2 separate regions of the Homo sapiens genome follow, and region 2 is linked to region 1. Evidence: promoter capture Hi-C in human tissues and cell types (Jung and others, 2019). All regions are on one chromosome and are shown on one strand. Each heading gives the region's core, a stretch centred on a gene start or on the middle of the fragment in contact. The rest is flanking DNA. Distances are from core to core; before and after follow the strand shown.

Region 1 (3,394 bases), core at 467-2,966:
TACTCTCCATAATAGGACTTCATAAGTCAGTCTAATTCTTAAGAAAGGAATAACAAATCCAAGAAGTGGGACCCCTGTAATAAAGCAATATATCTAGATATCCAGGATCATTTTTTATCTTTTAGTGGTGGGAGACCAATTCCCCTTTATAGCATGGAAATGCTTGGTGGTGAGGAGCCTGGTATCTGGAACTGTGTTCAGGAGAAGTTATCAGCGTGATTAAAGTAAAACAAAGTCTGGGCCGGGCGCGGTGGCTCACGCCTGTAATCCCCAGCACTTTGGGAGGCCGAGGTGCACGGATCACAAGGTCAGGAGATCGACACCATCCTGGCTAACACGGTGAAAACCCGTCTCTACTAAAAATACAAAAAATTAGCTGGGCGTGGTGGCGGGGTGCCTGTAGTCCCAGCTACTCGGGAGGCTGAGGAAGGAGAATGGCGTGAACCCAGAAGGCAGAGCTTGCAGTGAGCCGAGATTGCGCCATTGCACTCCAGCCTGGGCGACAGAGCGAGACTCCGTCTCAAAAAAACAAACAAACAAAAAACAAGCAAAAAAAAAAAAAACAAAGTCTGTCCATCTTAGCAACCACTTTGATACTGGAGAAAGGCTCCTGTCCAGAAGGAAGGGCACAGTAGTGAGGTACTTGCCAATGAGCTGGGTAGAGCTGCCACTGGCTGGCTTCGGGAAGTGTTTATCACTGACTGGCTCATGTTCAGAAGCTTGGAGTGAGGCTGTTGTGTACTGGTTGATTTTCAGAGTACGTGTACTGATCTAAAATTATGTAAATTAATGGCAAGTACTTGTTAGTGACTTGGGACTTTGGTCAAAAAACAGTCTTTTCCTTTCCTGAATATGAAAAGTAAGTTCTTTTAATTAGCAGCCTCCCCTCTTCACTGTTTTTTCTTCCTGCAGTCCAACTAACAGAACAGACCATAAAGGTCTGTCCAGATCATTATTTATGGAAGTATGAGATATATATATTTCAGCTGGTGTTAACATTTTATTTAAGTGCCAGTTACTGAGCAGAAAAATAGCTGTAACTACGAGTTTTTGTAATTTATTGGAAAAAGCTAAATATAAGACATTTAGGGTGTCCTCCCAAAGTCAACACAGGACAAGATCATTTAATATAGGACATGTCCTGTGTATACAGGATGCCTAGCAACTGTATGTAGCCACGGGTGTTTTGGTTGTTAAATGAATCTGTCCTAAAAGGTTCTACGCACATCTAGGTCCTTGGAAGGGAGAGGGCTAAAACGGCGAGTGGAAACCATGGTTTCCCTGAGGACTGCCCAGCTGAGGACCCAAGCAAGATCCTGGGCTTGGGCCTCTTAGAGATGACAAAGCAGGCGCCATTCTCCCCTCACCTGCACGGCCCAGGCTTCAGGTGAGCCACGGGGCCAAGGCGGCCAACAGCTGAGGCGCAGCCCGTGAACTGGGGGCCCACTTGTGCCTAGAGGGCGAGGTCTCGGTAGAGCCAGGCTGTATCAGTCCGTGACACTCCAGCCAGAGGCGATGCCGACGGCTGCCGGAGAAAGCCGGGCTTAGAGCGCCACAGTTCCACGCCCGCCGCCGGCCTCTCAGCCCAGCCGGTCGCCGCAACCTCGCCTCTTCCGCAGGGCGGGGCCAGCCATGAAAGGCGGGGCGGGTCTGGCCACGGGGCGACCGAGATGGCGGCCTCCGGGGGCCTAGAGGGACCCTGGGCGTGCACTCGCCCTTCCGGCTCGGCCTTTAGTTAGTGACCAGCTCCTCGGCGTTCTGCAGAGCGTGGGTTTCAGCGAGTTCTACGTGCCAGGTCCGCCCGGTGCCGGCTTCCTCGCTGCCCCTGGCGGCTCGTCAGCCCCCACTACCCCTGAACTTGGTCCCAATGGCGGCCCGCCCCTCCTTCACCCGGACCGTGGGCATCTGGGCCTCGCCGAAGCCGTCAAGGTGGCTGCTCGGGCTTCTAGAGCCCGTGTCCAGCCCTTTGCCACCGAGGCCTGATCCTCTTTTCTGCCCTAAAGAACTTGCCCTGACAGCCTCTGGCTCCCGGTACTGACGTTTCTGATGTTTGGGGTTGCCTGTTTTCTTGGGTGGAGTGTTAAGATCACGGTTGGGTGGGGTCTCCGGTCAGCATCACCCACTGGGACGCTGAGTATTTTACCCTTAATCCGCATTCAGCCACCCCAGTCCCTCTTCTCCTGAGGTTCTTTCTTTTGGGTCCACGTCATCGTCCCTGTAAGCATTCTGTAAAGACTCTTTACGTTTGTAGAGACCCAACACAATAGGGACAGGGCTCTTGGGTCCCTCAGTTTACCCGTACGAATGGGCTCAAAAAAAGCTCTTCGGACTGAGCAGGCAGGTGGAAGATTGTCCTGAAGACTAGGCAGAACAATTCATAAGAAGTTTGGGGCTATCAGCGTGAGAACAATTAGAGGGAGTCCTAGTAGAATCTCCGTGCATCCAGTGCTGGAAATGTGGAAACTGGGAGGGCCATAGGTTGCTGTAGGTGGTGGACGACAGGGTCCTTAGCACTCATGGCTCTTTTTCTCTTAGCTCTTGAGGATCTTGCTTGTCCAAACCCAGAAGACAGTGCATGAAGCCAGGGGACATCCGCCATGCTCCAAACAACTTGGCCTCAGGTGAGCTGAGCTTCTTTCAGTTTTTTTGTTTGTTTGTTTATGTTTTTTTACTCACATTAGCTATCAGATAATCAGGAAAGGATGAGGAAGGCCTAACTTGGCCAAGCTGTGTTTTCCCCTTTGTATCTATCTCCAGGGCTATGGCAGATGTAAATATGTGCTGGGGAAATGAAAGTTTTGTGTATAGAGAGTGATGAGTTTGGATGTATAGATTTAAATGGAAGAAAGGGGACCTATACCAAGAAATTCTTTCTGAATGTGGAAATCCAGATCGTGTTCTAGAAATGAAAGTCACCTACTGAAATCAGACTCATTTTTTGTGAGACGGAGTCTCACTCTGTCGCCCAAGCTGGAGTGTAGTGGCACTATGATATCGGCTCACTGCAGCCTCTGCCTCCTGGGTTCAAGTGATTCCCATACCTCAGCCTCCTAAGTAGCTGGGATTACAGATGTGCGCCGCCACGTGTGGCTAATTTTTGTATTTTTAGTAGAGACGGGGTTTACACCACGTTGGCCAGGCTGGTCTTGAACTCCTGAGCTCAGGTGATCCACCCGCTTCGGCTTCCCAAAGTGCTGGGATTATAGGCATGAGCCACCGCACTAGCTTGAAATCAGAAATTCTTTATTGGAGAGATTGCCCACAAATTGTATTGTATGTATCCCAGAGAGACTAGTATTGTTGCTTTAATATACATTTTCTAAATGCTAGATGCAAGGACTCTGAAGTTGCAGAGAAAGCTGGATGTACTCTAGAAACTGGAAGGGGTCAGAGA
Region 2 (3,394 bases), core at 495-2,994, 150 kb before region 1:
TTGGTAGAAGCAGATCTCTGAATGCCAGGCTGCCTTTGAATTTATTCCAGTAGGCAGTAAGAGATCACTGTTGAATGAACGAGTCATAAAAAGAGTTTGAGCAGGGAACCACATAACTTGACCTTTTCTATAAGGAGATCAGTCCTGCAGGGTTCTTAGTCTAGGGGCCATATAGAGAATTCAGGGGGTTGTGTCCTTACATGTGGAAAAAATACATCTTTGTTTATAGAAAATGTAATGTTTCCTTCAATTATGAACACAGGTAATGAAGCACAATATTAGCAAGACCTATGCCATTGTCTCCAATAGAAATCACACATGTTTTCATGTCACATTATAGTTGTGATGGATGTCTTTAAATATTCTTTATGTTCATCACACTTTAAAATGAGAGTGGAAGTTAGACCTGCTTCTGGATCTCATTATGTAATGATTTAATAAAGAAGCATATATATATATATATATATATATATATATATATATATATATATACACACACACATATATATATGTATATATATATGTTAAACCACAAATTTGATTTTTGATATGGTTTGGCTGTGTCTCCACCCAAATCTCATCTTGAATTATAGCTCCCATAATCCCCATGTGTCATGGGAGGGACCCAGTGGGAAGTAACTGAATCATGGGGGCGGATTTTTCCCATGCTGTTCTCATGATAGTGAACAAATCTCATGAGATCTAATGGTTTTATAAAGGAGCATTCCCCTGCACATGCTCTCTTGCCTGCTGCCATGTCAGATATGATTTTGCTCCTCATTCACCTTCAGTCATGATTGTGAGGCCTCCCCCACCATGTGGAACTATGAGTCCATTAAACTTCTGTTTTTAAATAAATTACCCAGTCTTGGGTATGTCTTTATTAACAGAGTGAGAACAGACTAATACAATTTTTAAAACATTTTGAAATGAATTTAATATAAAGAATTCCTGTGTAATTCTGTTTCATTTTATATATTTAATAACATGTTTTGAGAACATCTATCAGCTTAACCAGACTGCCAAAGGGGTTCATTGTAAAAAATGGTAAAAACTAAGTAAAATGGCAAAGAATGGGAAGAAGCCTGAACAGACCAATAACAAGTAACAAGATTGAATAATAAAAAGTTTTTCATCAAAGAAAAGTCCAGGACCTGATGGTTTTACTGCTGAATTCTACCAAACATTTAAAGAACTAATACCAATTATTCCCAAACTATTCCAAAAAATTAAAGAGCGAATTCTTCCAAACTCATTCTATGAGGCCAGCATTACCCTGGTATGAAAACCAGAGCGAAACAACAACAAAAAAGAAAACTACAGGCCAATACCTCTGATCAACATAGATGTTAAAATTTTCAACAAAACGCTGGCAAACCAATTCAACATCACATTTAAAAGATCATTCACCTGTATACATACGTAACTAAACCTGCACGTTGTGCACATGTACCCTAAAACTTAAAGTATAATAAAAAAAAAAAAAGATCATTCCCCATGATCGAGGAAGACTCATCCCAGGGATGCAAAGATGGTTCAACATATGTAAATCAATAAGCATGACACACCACACTAACAGAATCAAAGACATAAACCATACGATCATTTCAATAAACACACAAAAAAGCATTTGATAAAATTTGATATCATTTCATGATAAAAACTCTCTACAATCTAGGTATAGAAGGAATGTGCCTCAACACAGCAAAGGCCATATATGACAAACTCACAGCTAACATCATACTTAACAGGGAAAAGTTGAAAGCTTTTCTTATGAGATCTAAAAAAAGACAAGAATGCTCACTTTCAACAATTTCATTCAACATAGCACTGAAAGTTCTACAGATCAGTTAGGCAAGAGAAAAAAATAAAGGGCAACCAAATTGGAAAGGAGGAAGACAAATTATTCCTGTTTGTGGACAACATAATTTTATACATAGAAAACCCTAAAAACTTCACAAAAAACTGTTGAAACTAATAAACAAATTCAGTAAAGTTGCATGATATAAAATAAACATACAAAAATTAGTAGCATTTCAATACACCAATAGTGAACTTTCAGAAAAAGAAATCGAGAAGCAATCCCACTTACAAAAGCTACCAAAGAGAAGAAGAGAAAGGCAGGCGGGAGGGAAGGAAGGAAGGAAGGGAGGAAGGAAGGAAGGAAGGAAGGAAGGAAGGAAGGAAGGAAGGAAGGAAGGAAAGGGAAGGGAAGGGAAGGGAGGGGAGGGGAGGGAGGGAGGAAGGAAGGAAGGAAGGAAGGAAGGAAGAAAGGGGCTCAGGCCTGTAATCCCAACACTTTGGGAGGCCAAGGTGGCAGATCATCTGAGGTCAGGAGTTCAAGACCAGCCTGGTCAACATGGCGAAAACCCATCTCTACTAAAAATACAAAAATTAGCCGAGTGTCATGGTGGGTGCCTGTAATCCCAACTACTCGGGAGGCTGAGAAGGAGAATCACTTGAAATCAAAAGGTGGAGGTTGCAGTGACCTGAGATTGTGCCACTGTACTCCAGCCTGGGTGATAGAGTGAGACTCTGTCAGAGAAGAAAGCAAGAGAAGGAAGTAAGGAAGGAAGGGAGGGAGGGAGAGAGAGAGAGAGAGAGGGAGAGAGAGAGAGAGAGAGGGAGGGAGGGAGGGAGAGAGAGAGAGAGAGAGAGAGAGAGGGAGGGAGGGAGGGAGGGAGAGAGAGAGAGAGAAAGAAAGAAAGAAAGAAGAAAGAGAGGAAGGAAGGAAGGAAGGAAGGAAGGAAAGAAAGAAAGAAAGAAAGAAAGAAAGAAAGAAAGAAAGAAAGAAAGAGAAAGCAAGCCTAGGAATAATCTTAATTAAGGAAGTGAAAGTTTTATACAATGAAAACTGAAAAACATTAGTAAAAGAAACTGAAGAAGACACAAATAAATGGAAAGATATCACATGTTCATGGATTTGAAAAGCTAACATTGTTAAAATGTCCATACTATACAAAGCAATCTATAGATTCAATGCAATCCCTATCAAAATATCAATGATACTCTTCACAGAAATAGAAAAAAACAATAATAAAAATATTTGTATGGCACCACAAAAGACTTTGAACACCCAAAGCAATTTTAAGCAAAAAGAACAAAGCTGGTGGCATCACATGACCTGATTTCAAAATATACTGCAAAGCTATAATAATCAAAACAGCCTGGTACTGGCATTAAAAATAGACACATAGGCCAATGAAACAAAATAGGGAACACAGAAATAAATTCACGCACTTACATACACATTTATAGCCAACTGATTTTTGACAAAGAGCCAACTGATTTTTGACAAAGATGCCAAGAAGACACACAGAGATATCAGAGGGGAAAAAAAAACAGCATTTTTAAATAAATGGTCCTGGGAAACTGGATATCCACATGCAGAAGA

Evidence for each region. Contacts are between HindIII fragments. The study calls those that stand out against the background at their distance.
Region 2: a fragment that was not itself captured here is called in contact with the fragment with the promoter of ZNF621 in region 1 in 1 of the 25 tissues and cell types used here (pancreas).

Annotation. Positions count from the first base shown.
Region 1 is chr3:40,523,244-40,526,637 of GRCh38, forward strand. It overlaps ZNF621 (zinc finger protein 621), which reads left to right and starts at 1,717. Exons shown (of 5, transcript NM_198484.5): 1 at 1,717-2,031; 2 at 2,536-2,621. The coding sequence starts at 2,598. RefSeq lists enhancers at 1,319-1,408, 1,687-2,499, 2,059-2,198 and a silencer at 1,599-1,758. The HindIII fragment of the contact is 18,179 bases long and covers 1-3,394 here.
Region 2 is chr3:40,374,876-40,378,269 of GRCh38, forward strand. No RefSeq gene overlaps it. Among named protein-coding and RNA genes, the nearest start is that of ENTPD3, 11 kb to the right of the region's middle. The HindIII fragment of the contact is 8,863 bases long and covers 1-3,394 here.